Linked DNA regions of Homo sapiens: all the other regions are linked to region 3. Evidence: promoter capture Hi-C in 16 types of primary human blood cells and fetal thymus (Javierre and others, 2016). All regions are on one chromosome and are shown on one strand. Each heading gives the region's core, a stretch centred on a gene start or on the middle of the fragment in contact. The rest is flanking DNA. Distances are from core to core; before and after follow the strand shown. Region 1 overlaps UCK2 (uridine-cytidine kinase 2). Region 2 has its middle 16 kb from the start of MIR3658. Region 3 holds the start of RXRG (retinoid X receptor gamma). Region 4 overlaps UCK2 (uridine-cytidine kinase 2).

The links. The method cuts DNA at HindIII sites, captures the fragments that hold promoters and counts their contacts. A CHiCAGO score of 5 or more calls a contact.
Region 1: a fragment that was not itself captured here is called in contact with the fragment with the promoter of RXRG in region 3 in 5 of 17 cell types (non-activated CD4 T cells, naive CD4 T cells, total CD8 T cells and 2 more); the score reaches 7.5 in non-activated CD4 T cells.
Region 2: a fragment that was not itself captured here is called in contact with the fragment with the promoter of RXRG in region 3 in 7 of 17 cell types (naive CD4 T cells, activated CD4 T cells, naive CD8 T cells and 4 more); the score reaches 10.3 in naive CD4 T cells.
Region 4: a fragment that was not itself captured here is called in contact with the fragment with the promoter of RXRG in region 3 in 4 of 17 cell types (naive CD4 T cells, activated CD4 T cells, total CD4 T cells and 1 more); the score reaches 6.5 in naive CD4 T cells.

What each region holds. Positions count from the first base shown.
Region 1 is chr1:165,874,861-165,878,049 of GRCh38, reverse strand. All of the region lies in intron 1 of UCK2 (uridine-cytidine kinase 2), which reads right to left. Among named protein-coding and RNA genes, the nearest start is that of MIR3658, 31 kb to the left of the region's middle. The HindIII fragment of the contact is 2,649 bases long and covers 347-2,995 here.
Region 2 is chr1:165,922,619-165,925,407 of GRCh38, reverse strand. No RefSeq gene overlaps it. Among named protein-coding and RNA genes, the nearest start is that of MIR3658, 16 kb to the right of the region's middle. The HindIII fragment of the contact is 2,669 bases long and covers 1-2,613 here.
Region 3 is chr1:165,443,791-165,446,889 of GRCh38, reverse strand. RXRG (retinoid X receptor gamma) reads left to right here and starts at 1,764. Exons shown (of 10, transcript NM_006917.5): 1 at 1,764-2,045. The coding sequence starts at 1,997. The HindIII fragment of the contact is 7,493 bases long and covers 1-2,800 here.
Region 4 is chr1:165,894,075-165,897,003 of GRCh38, reverse strand. UCK2 (uridine-cytidine kinase 2) reads right to left here. Exons shown (of 7, transcript NM_012474.5): 4 at 672-814. Among named protein-coding and RNA genes, the nearest start is that of MIR3658, 12 kb to the left of the region's middle. The HindIII fragment of the contact is 1,691 bases long and covers 717-2,407 here.

The sequences.
Region 1 (3,189 bases), core at 422-2,921, 430 kb before region 3:
TCCAAACCCACTCAATGTACAACAGCAAAAGTGAACCCTAATGTCAACTATTAACTTGTTGATAAGGATGTGACAATGTAGGTTCATGACTGTGACCAACGTACCTCTCTGATGGGGGGTGTTGATAATAGGGGAGGTTGTGCATGTGTTGGGCCAAGGGGAATCAGAGAAATCTCTATCTTTTCCTCAATTTTGCTAGGAACCTAAAACTGCTCTTTAAAAAAAGCATATTAAAGAAGATAATAAACATGCAACTAAACTACCATATGATCAGGCAATTGTACTGATCCCACAGAAATGAAAACATAGTCACACAAAAATACATACACAAATGTTCATAGAAGCTTTGTTAGAGCCAAAAATTAGAAGCCACCCAGATGGCCTTCATTACGCCGATGGTTAAACTACGGTATATCCATACAATGGACTATTACTCAGCAATAAAAACGAATGACTGCTGATACAACAACCTGCACGAATCTCCAGAGAATTGTGCTGAGTAAAAAAGGGCAATTCCAAAAGGTTACATACAGTATGGTTATATTTGTATAAAATTGTGGAACGATTAGTGGTGGACCACGGTTAGGGACAGGGAGCAGTGGAGGGGCGGGAAATCCGGGGCAGGTAATAAACAGCAAAACAGCAGTAGCGATGGAAGTGTTCTGTATCTTCACTGTATCAACGTCAACATCCCGGTGTCTTTTGTAATATGGGATCTCTCTGTATTATTTCTTATGTGTTTGTGAACCTACAACTATCTCAAAACAAAATGTTTATCTAAAAAAAAGATTAGCGACTATCCATCTTCTGCCATTTGTCTTTTTATTTATCCCAGAGGTATAGCTTCTCACTTTTCAAAATTCTTAATTTTTCCTCACAAAGCAGTGTTAATAATTAATTGGGATGAGATGAATGCATTCTGCACACAGGACAAATTTTGGGGGGGTCAGTGGACCATTTATAAGTGAGTTACATTGTTGCCCCCCAAAATCTACGATCATATTCTAACTCCCCCAACCTCAAAATATGACCTTATTTGGAAAAAAGGTCTTTGCACATGTAATTAAGTTAAATATCTTGAGATGAGATCATCCTGAATTAGGGTGGGCCCTAAACCCCATGACATGTGTCCTTCTAAGAAACAGAAAAGGTGAAGACACGGAGACATGAGGGAAAGCCATATAAAGGTGAAAGTAGAGACTGGGGTGATACAAGAAATGGCAGCAGAAGCTGGGAGACAGGACGGAGGCATGGGTCTCCTTCAGATCTTCCAGAAGAGGCCAACACTGCCCACACCTAAATTTCAGTCTTACAGCCTCCAGCACTATAAGAGAATGAATCTGTCATTTTAAGTCATCAAGATTGTAGTAATTTGTTACTATAGCCATAGAAAACTAATACACCTGTCACTTTTTTAATGGGTATATTGAATTTCTTTTTTTAAATCACAGAGGATGTACTTTCTTCAACTTTTATTTATGTACACTCCTGTACATACATTGTTTTTATCTCCTTACAGAGGATATATGTCATAAAGATGTATCATTGCATTTTACAAACTTGTCCTGCAGAATTTTTCCTGGTGTTTTCTGTTTGCTCTAATGGTAAACTGTTGCTATCTGGAATATAGGCATGTCTACCTAATCAAATATCCTGGTTAATAATTTATCATACTTACTAAATACTCAGAAGTAAAACTATACTGAGCACAGGACTTAATCTACTGTTTCCTTGGTGACGAAGATGTCACTTCCAGATCCAGTGGTGTGCTTCAGGGTCTTCAAAATGAGTAGCAATTACTAGGCTGCAGATGTGTGAAACTGCCATTTAAGAGAGGTGTTGTGTTTCCATAGAAATGCCCAATAAACTTCTGGGCAAGATAGATTTTAAAAAGCAAGAGGATGAAAACTACCCACCTACTACAATGTCCTAAAAAGCAAAATATAGGTCCTTGTGGTGTTATGATTTATAATGGTTTTCAACCAGGTTCCTGGTCCATAACTCCCACAGCCCTTGTTACAGTCTTTTGTGATAATGTTGGGTCAGGAAACAGAATCTCTTTCCTGCCTTCCTTTCACCTGGCCCGAGGCAGGAATCTAATCTTTCCCCACCTTTCAGATTGTGGGTCTCAAACCCTCCCCTGAGAGGGCTAAGCACTGTAGGAAGGAACGTTTCCAAAAAACCCAAGAAAGCTGGGTACAGGGAGTTTCCGGATAGCTGAACACCTGGAGGTTCCTGGAGGGTGGCACACAAGGGAGGGGTTGGAAACTCCGCACCTCTTTCCCCATGCCTTGCCCTGTGCGTCTCTTCATCTGTGTCCTTTGCAAAATATCCTTTATAATAAACCAGTAAACATAAGTGTTTCCCTGAGTTCTGTGAGCCACTCCAGCAAATTAATCAAACCCTAAGAGGGGGTTATGGGAACCTCGACTTGAAGTCAATCAATCAGAAGTTCCAGAGGCTCAGGTTTGCATGTCTGCAGGGGGCAGGGGCAGTTTTAGAGACTTGAGTTTCCAACCTGTGGGATTTGACACTATCTCCAGGTAAATAGTGTAGCAAGTAAATTGGAGGACACTCAACTGGTGTCTGTGCCTTGCTGTGTGAGGAAATCCCCCCTCTCTCACCACAATCGGTCACAGAAGTCTTCCGTGTTAACTGTTGTGGTGTGAGAGTAAAGGAAAAATGTGGTTTCAGAGAGTTTCCCTACATAGTCCTTTAAAGTCAGGCTGGGCAGGGCACACAGGACCTGGCTTGATTCCTGACTCTAACATACCAGTGATATCTCGGGCAACTCAACCTCTTAGAACACTGGCATCCTTGTTTTAAACTGCAGGTAACCATACCTGTTCCACAAATGGGCCATAAGTGTTAATAAGCTACATGCCTAAGATAGTGGCTAGCACAAACTATATGTTCAATAAAAATTATTCTCTTCTTTAAGATCCACCAAATTTTCATTTAGACAAATCTTTCCAGGAAAGTCCATTAGGAAGCTTTTTTTTTTTTTTTTTGGTAACTCAGTTGAAAACTTCATCAATTCATGCCCATTAGTTTTATTTTCTTCACGTCTATAAAACGGCACAAAACTACATTATCATACTATTAAACCACACTACACAATGAAAACAACACACTAGTGTTCATACATTATGTACCAGGAAAGAAAAAGCATCCATTTCCTTAAGAGTT
Region 2 (2,789 bases), core at 30-2,529, 480 kb before region 3:
CTTAAATCTGACACAATCCTATGAGGTAGAAAGGACTTGATATTATCATCCCTAAATAAAGAGATTAAAGATTAGAGAGTGGTTAGTCCAGGGTTATGCAAATAGTCTACTGCAAAGCCTGGGTGGTCTCTGGCAGGCAACAGTAAAGCCATATGCACATGAAACAGGTGTATGAAGAGGTGGGTGAGACTGAGACTGAGAGGGTGGATGGTGCAGGTCCTGTAAGTTTCCTTCTCACAGACTGACCAATCTGAGTTCTACAGGAAAGCCACCCACAGTTCCTCCTTGTTGAGACCCCCTAGATCTAGGAGTTGGGATTGTACCTCTTTGTGCACATTCCATTCTGCCTTGTACAAGAGTTGTGTCTATATGTGAGGGGCCACTGGCCATTTATGAGGTCCTGGAAGGCAGGGAGGGCTTGGCACAGTACCTGGCACATGATAGGTGCTCTCTAGTGTGTTTGAATTGACCGTCCTCCAGCTGTTCTGAAGGTTAAAACAGGACTTTGCTGTGCTGTGGCTCATTCTCACCCTCTAGTGGCCACTTTTAAGAATAACGGACCACAGATGGAGCTGAGCTTCCAAAGCCAATCAGGAGGCACTGCCATGCCTAGGCCACAGTCCACCTTCTGGTCAGGAGAAACTCAGTTATCAATGGAACTCTTTAAAAATACATGTGCATCTCGGGCCGGGCGCGGCGGCTCACGCCTGTAATCCCAGCACTTTGGGAGGCCGAGGCGAGTGGATCACGAGGTCAAGAGATCGAGACCATCCTGGCGAACATGGTGAAACCCCGTCTCAACTAAAAATACAAAAATTAGCTGGGCGTGGTGGTGCGCGCCTGTAATCCCAGCTACTCGGGAGGCTGAGGCACGAGAATCGCTTGAACCCGGGAGGCGGAGCTTGCAGCGAGCCGAGATTGCACCACTGCACTCCAGCCTGGCGGCAGAGCGAGACTGCATCTCAAAAAAAAAAAAAAACAAAACAAAAAAACGTGTGCATCTCTGCTAGCGAGGCGTCTGGCTCTAAAGCAAAAGTCAAATAAGGAAATCAGCCAACTGTTTATCAGGCACTGACTACGTGGCAAGTACCCTGCCAGGACACATGAGATACAGGAAACACAGTTGCTGACCGTAAAGGAGCCCACAATTTAATGTGAAGTAACACTCCACCGCCCAGGCATCCCAGCATGCTTCACATACAAAGAACAATGGAAGTTTTAGAACTCCAAGCAACATTTGATGCTGTGAACAAAGCAGAATTTCTCTGGAGGAGAAAGTTTGAAAAAACCAATGAGACACTTTTTTTTTTTTCATTATCATGGTTCAGATAACCAGAAAACCTTCCTGCTACAAAATACCTACAAGTTCCACATAAAATACAAAAAAGATAATAATAATGAAGTCCTGCTTAATGCATAGCTGAGCATATAAGAAAATGACATTAGACAAGGGCCAAGAATAGCAATTTAAAACATTAGTATAAAACACAATCAAAAATCAACAAGCAGATTTGGACTATAATGAAATGGTTTTTCTAAAAGCCAAAAATATGGTCACTGAAATTAAAAACTTGGTAAGTTTTAAACAGCAAACTAAACATGGGTGAAGAGCGAGTAACTAAATTGGAAATGATCTAAGGAGCTTAGCTACAATGTAGCTTGAGAGATAAAAAGATTAAAAATAAGGCAGGGCACAGTGGTACATATCAATAATCCCATCACTTTGGGAGGACAAGATGGGTAAATCGCTTGAGTCCAGGAGTTCGAGACCAGCCTGGGCAACATAGTGAAACCCCATCTCTACAAAAAATACAAAAATTAACCGGTCATGGCGGCTCACGCCTGTGGTCCCAGCTACTTAGGAGGCTGAGGTGGGAGGATCACTTGAGCCCAGGAGGTTGAGGCTGCAGCAAGCCATGATCACTCTACTGCATTTCAGCCTGGGCTATAGAGTGAGACCCTGTCTCAAACAAACAAACAAACAAAAAACAGATTAAAAATAAAATAAGAGAGTAAGAGACTTAGAAGAAAGAGCAAAAGGTCCTATGTACATGGAACCACAGATCAAAAGATAGAAAACAGAGAGAAAAGTGAGAAGGCAACATTAGAAAAGATAATAGCTATAAATTTTCTAGAATAGATGAAACACATAGAACTCGCCTTCAGGAAGCACATGCCCTAAGTAGGGTAAATAAAAATAAATCCACATTTCAACACATCATAAGAAATTGCAAAACATCAAAGAGAAATCTTTTTAAAAGACAGAAAACAGAAGACCAATCTATCCAAAATGTTGAGAGAAACAGCTAAATTATAACTCAAGAATGAGGGTAAAAAAAGGCATTTTCCAACAAAGAGTGTCCCACTAATAATTCTGACAAATAATTATGAAAAAAATGTGTGTTATGAAGAAAACTGAATCCATAACCAAGATTGACAATGCAAAATAAAATAGTGAACAAAGTCATTAGTAATAATCTGGGAAAATCTAAATGAGCACTGACAGGATAAAACAGTAATCGTAACTAATGTCAAGAATATAAAAGCAAGGTGGAACTATAATACTTAACATCAATAACATGTAAGATAGACAGAGTGGTCAGAGTTTAAGCTTTCAAAGCTTTCATATTGTTTAGGAAGAGGAGAGAAATACTGATTAAATTCAGATTTTGTCAACTATCCATGTCAATTTTAAAAGATGGCCACTAAAGTAAGAAAAATATAATGTGTGTAATTTTCAACCCTAAAAAGAGGATAAAAGTGAACATAAAAAATCTCAACTTTTGGTT
Region 3 (3,099 bases), core at 515-3,014:
TGAAGAATATGCATAAGAGAACACAACTTAGGGGAGGTAGGGGTGGGGAGATTTTTATCGAGTTAGTTCTACATGAATTAACATGCAGAGCTGCCCACCTAATGCAAGTGAGCAAATGGTCCTCCTGTATTCTATATTACTTATGTCCACTGGACTCTCATCCCAGCAACAGTCAAGGCAGCTCTGGGCTCTCCAAAGCTCTTTACAGTGAAGGCCTGGATATTTCTTCCTCCTTTGTGACATGCTTTTGCTTTGATTCCCCATTTTGGCCTCCTCCTTTGTCATCATGACTTTGTTCCTGACTCTGGTCTTTTATTCTACGTTTTTGTTTTGGCTTCTCCTAGCATTTGAATCTTGATTTTTTACTCTGGGACCCTGATTTGACTTACCTCTCTGGCTCTCTATGTCTTATGCTGCATCAGGAGAAAATCTCTTATCTTTTTTCCAGCCCAACAGAGCTCAGCCCATGAAACGGACCTTCAATGGGTATGTTGACAGCACCCCATCACCGTGCCAACACATATACCATGAGGAAAAGGTTTGGACCATATCTGGAGTATTGCATCCAAGTCTGGCCAACCCCCTTCCTCACTGTGAGGGTATCTATGTAAACTGAAGTACATTATTAGAAAAAGGATAGGTTGGGAATAGACATGAACCCTTGGTGATACATAGAATTACTGAAAGAGCCAGAGATGCCTAGGGAAAGGGGGATTATGGGCACAGCAGATCAATCTCAGGATTTGCAGAGGATCCCACTGTGAAAGACTTTTTTGTCTTTCAGGCTTCTCTTGTGTGGCCCCTGGGAGCAGTCTAGCACCTGTGGGCAGAAGCTGTAGGGAAAAGGAGCAGATTTTATCTCTATAAGAAACTTTCTTGTGGTGAAAACTATCTAGAAATGGAATGAGAAAGTGGTGAGCTCCCCATTATTGGAGGTGTTCAAGTATAGGCTGAGCGGTGACTTGTCACGAAAACTGTATGACAGACCCAAACATCAACGGGGTGCTTAGATTCTTTGATCTCGGGTCAGTTCCACACAAGACAGGCTCTGTGTTAGTGAGGACCCAGTGGTGTTTTTGAACAGGCGGCAGGATAACAATGGTATATAAAATAAATGCAGAGAAAGACCTCCACATCAAGCCAACCCCTCCTCCCTACCTGTAAGTTTTCCACCTGAGTGAGCTCTGGCTCCAGCTGCACTTGTCAAACTCCCATTGTTAGAGCACAGATAAATGCTTCCGGCCACCCAAGCAGGAGAGGCCCACCTCAACTTAAGGGCTACTCTATTTTAGTTTTCCGTAGCTGGAGATTGAGTATCACGCTTTTCTAATCTTGTGCTTCTGAAAGGGCCCTGTTCTCTCTTGAACCCCACCCCCTCCTCCTTTCACAGATCAAATACCAAGTACATTGGACAGATAGAAGTTCGAATGAGAAAATGCATTTTAATAAAATCCCATTGATTTTTGTGGATGTAAGTCAAGGAACAGGCACCTAAAGAGTCTTCCATCCCCTGCCGTCTCCCGCCTCTCTCCTGACCTACACCGGGCGGTCATACATCGATTGGCTTCCTAGATAATAGATCGTGCCACCCGGTAGGGACCTCTGGGGACGCGCCGGGAGCTGGAAGAGTCGCACGCAGCAGCCCAACCCTGAGTTAATCAAACTAGCAACAGGATCTCAAGCAGCAGCGACGGCGGTGGCAAGAGTAGCGGTGACGGCGGCGGCGGCGGCGGCGGCAGCATTATGCGTGATTACTGACAGGCACCAGCTGCTGCCGCCACAGCCGTCTCAAACGCACTATGTGGACTCTCCGATCTAGAGGCAGATTCCTGACTAATCCCAGAGGGCTGGCCCAGCCTGTGCTCCCCGGGCTGCTAGGAAGCGATGACCACTCTTGTTAGCCCAAGTTGAAGAAAGCCGGGCTGTGCCTGGGAGCCGAGAGAGGCGGTAATATTTAGAAGCTGCACAGGAGAGGAACATGAACTGACGAGTAAACATGTATGGAAATTATTCTCACTTCATGAAGTTTCCCGCAGGCTATGGAGGTAAGTATCTCCCTTGGGCTTCACTGCGTGGACCTGTATGAGAGACTGAGAAGAAATTGGGAAATACGAATGACTGGATTAGTATTGAATTAAAAGGAGAACATATATGTTTATATGCATATATAGTGTGTATATAGCGTTTCAGCGTGTGTGTGCACGCGTGCATGAGAGAGGAGAGGAGGAAAGAATGGTCTGTAGGTGAGGATACGTTTGCATATCAGAATGAGGATACGGGGATATTCTAAGGAGAGAGTAAACCAACATGCTTGAGAATGTGTCTGAGACAAAGATAGAATAAGAGCATTGTTATAACCCAGTGTGTTTGTGCGGGTGTGAAAAGTGGAAGAGTTAACGGGGAATTACTATGATGTTCCTATTAGCCAACTTGTAATGAGAAAAAATGTGATTAAAAAGGTTTTGCCTATCTTGAGGGTTCCTGGGATACTTTGTAACAAGGGCATGATTGTTTTACTCAAAAGCAGATTTCCCTTTAATTGGATTTTTAAAAAGAAAACATAGTGCTTTAATTTGCTACTGTGTTTTCCTTCCCCTGTTTTCTTTCCTTTGATTTGCTAATAGCCTCTTCTCTCCTCCCCTGCTGCTGCCCCCAATTCTACTGCAAGAGTTGCTGCAATCACTTCCACTCTGGGGGTAGAGATCTGGGGATGGGGGGTTGGGGCTCTTAGAGAATTGGCAAACTGAAGATTCAAGTCACCGTGCCAGGCAGGGCAGCCCAGTCACACTTCACAGAAGCTTCCGGAGACTAGGTCCTCAGGCTGCCTTAACGCCCAAGCACATCCGTCCCAAGGATCCCTTGATTTAGTGACAGAAACAGTACAGCCGCCCAGCTCTGAGTAAATGGAAGCAACAGCTGACCAACTGGCCTGTCGCTTGTCAGTTGGAGGCATGCAGCTTATGTTGCTGGGAGCCAAAGAAAGATTCTGGCAGGCAAGACAGCAGAAATTCTTATAAGGTTTTGAAAATTGAAAAGTCCCTGCTCTCCAGACTTCCTCCGTGGACCAATTCATCTGAAGGCTTGGGACTAAAGCTTGCC
Region 4 (2,929 bases), core at 313-2,812, 450 kb before region 3:
AATCTCTCCTGGTGGAAGCGAACTCTCTGCTGAATACCCTGTAGAGCTCAGTTCACAGGCTGGGCTCCTCTACCAAGGGGCACTGCTGTGCCTTCAGCACACAAGCACAGGGACTTAGCACAGGCAGGCCCACACTTAGTAGGGCCTGCGGAGGGCACAGCTGACTTCCCTCCTGAGCTGACTGGAAAGAGTGATAATGCCTCCATAAAGCCTGCTGGAAAATAAAGGGCTAGAGAAGCAGGCTAACAGGATGAGCTGCCCAGTACTTCAGGCACAGGGGATCCTATCCTCGGGGGTCCTACAGTTAGTTCCCCAAATCAGAGCATCTTCATTTTGATGTCTTATAAACAAATTGCAAGGAACTAAGCATTTAATCAAACTTTTCCAGGCAAAACCAGATGTCAGTGTCTTATTTAGTCTCTGTGACCTCACAAGCCTTTCGTTATCCCAAACAGTAAGTGACTAATCCCTTCTCAAATGTTACCAAGTGTCTGGGCAGCAGGATATCCTGGGGCTGGACTGACGCAGCCGGGCTGGACCATGCGACACACAGCTGCCTCAGGGAAGGCATGGGCTTCAGACTCAGGCGGGTGGGGTCCTGTCACAGGCTCCCAGCTCCCCCGCCCTCAAGGTGGCCACCAACAGGGCCACCTGAGGCTTTTAGAACGCACCTCTGCGTGAGAGCCGGGTGTCCGCATCTGTATCCACAAAAAGCTTCATCTGGAACAGGTCTCGTACCTCCTGGGAGTAGAAGGCCAGGATCCCTTCAAAGAGCACCACGTCTGCGGGATAGACAGTAACTGTCTCCTCCTTCCTGCAAAGCACAGAGCAGATAATGGGCCAAGCCAGGCAGGGGCTAGCAAGGGACAGAGAACAAGGGCCAGAACATCTGGCTGGGCTGGGTTCTGGGTTCCTTGCCCCCACAGACTTCAAGCGGGGGCTAAAGACTTGGCTAATATGGTCTTACAGAGCCCTCGGACCACCACCAAAGAGCCAAGGGTGATCACGGCCGGGACAAAGGTCTCCTTTGACCACTTCTGAGCTTTCACCATGAAACAGAAATACACGGCAGACATCCTTCTCCTTGGAATTAAAAAAACCTGCTGTTGAATGAAGAATAAAGGCAGACAAAAACAGATGTGATTTCTTTTTTTCTCTGAAGGCGTCTCCAGGAATGCTCTCATGGCCTGGCATTTATGGAACCTAACACTCTGAACTTTAAAAACAGAAACTCACAGTTTTCTCTCAACAACTCCATCCCCTCCCCGCCAGTCCTGAGGCAATTGAAAGGAGGGAGGAAAGGACAGAAGGGGAAGGGAAGGAGGGAAAATAAAGAAAAGTTTTGGGAAAGAGGATACAGACGAGAAAGCATTTGTGAGGAAGTACAGAATCCCGACGTCTGTCTGGTCTGGCTCTACCCCAAACCAACAAAGTGGCCACAGGTCAATCCTGAGCTCCCTAGAGCTGCTCTTCCTTATCAATAAAGCAGAAATATGCATGACCTCATCCACCCAACCCACATGGTTGGGTAGCCTAGGGCAGGCACTAATTGTAAACATGACTTTTCTTTCTTTTTCTTGTTTTTGGAGACAGGGTCTCACTTTGTCACCCAGGAGGCTGGAGTGCAGCGGCGCAATCTTGGACTCACTGCAGCCTCAACTTCCCAGGCTCAGGCGATCCTCCCGCCTCAGCCCCCTAAGTGTCTAGGACTACAGATGCACACCACCACCCCAGGCTAATTTTTGTATTTTTGGTAGAAACGGGGTTTTACCATATTGCCCAGGCTGGTCTATAACTCCTGGACTCATGCAACCCACCCACCTCAGCCTCCCAAAGTGCTAGGATTACAGGCATGAGCTACCAAGCTCAACCAACATGACTTTTCAAAAAGCAAGAAGGGTGAAACATTGCTAAACGGTTAGGCGACGGGCTGTCACAGATGGCCTTGCTTGTGCTCAGCTTTGCCTTGCTGCAGCTTTCACTGTGTTTTGTCTTTTGATTCTGTCCTATGCCCACCTTATATGTCACCAACTGCCTCTTGCTCAAAATTCACTGAAAATAGAGAAATAATCATCATTGCAAGGTTTCCACTCACCCTGACTAGCACACTGGCAAACCAAATAAAACAAAGTCTCTTAAAACAGTAGTTCCATCTGTGCAAACATAAGGAGGTCAGTATCAACGGCCAGCTCAAGAGGGTGCCGTTGGAACTCCTTCCCATAAACACTTCCTGATGCCTTCTCAGCTTGGACCAACAGGCTTGTGTCTGAGTTTTAAGGCAGGCACTGCTAGGGTAGCTAGCAAGTGGCAGAACGGGGCAGGGAAGACGGGAAAAAAGGACTAGGATTAGGAAATGCCCTAGAATTGTGGTGTATCTGAGATGCATATCAGAACCATCTGGGAAGCTTATAAAAATATCCCTACCTGGATCCTACCCCCAAGGAGCTCTGATTTAATGAGTCTGAAGTGGAGCTAGAACTTCAACACTATTTAGAAGCTCCCAAGATATTTCTAACATGCAGCCAGGGTAGAGAAGCACCAGTCTAGAGGAATGTCAGCTGCCAGAAAATGGTGTGCCCATTGTCATTGTGCATAAGAAGGCAACCTAGAGAAGTTCAGAAAACAGAACCAATGGGTAAGTGAAATAGTGAGCCACTCTCTAGGCAACTCCCCTACACCAAGGAGAGTGTGGGAAGGCTTTGTCCAAAAATAAAGTGAATGTATGTGCAAGAGTCCACTTGAACACACTAACAGAGAACACAATGGCTGCACTAAGTTTACATATCCAGGTTAAGTATCCCTTATATGAAATGCTTAGGTGTTTAGAATTTTTGAATTTTGGATTTTTTTCAGATTTTGGAATATCTGCATTATATTTAGGGCATCCCTAATATGGCAGGGGGAGAGAGGATCTACAATGAGCCTCCCT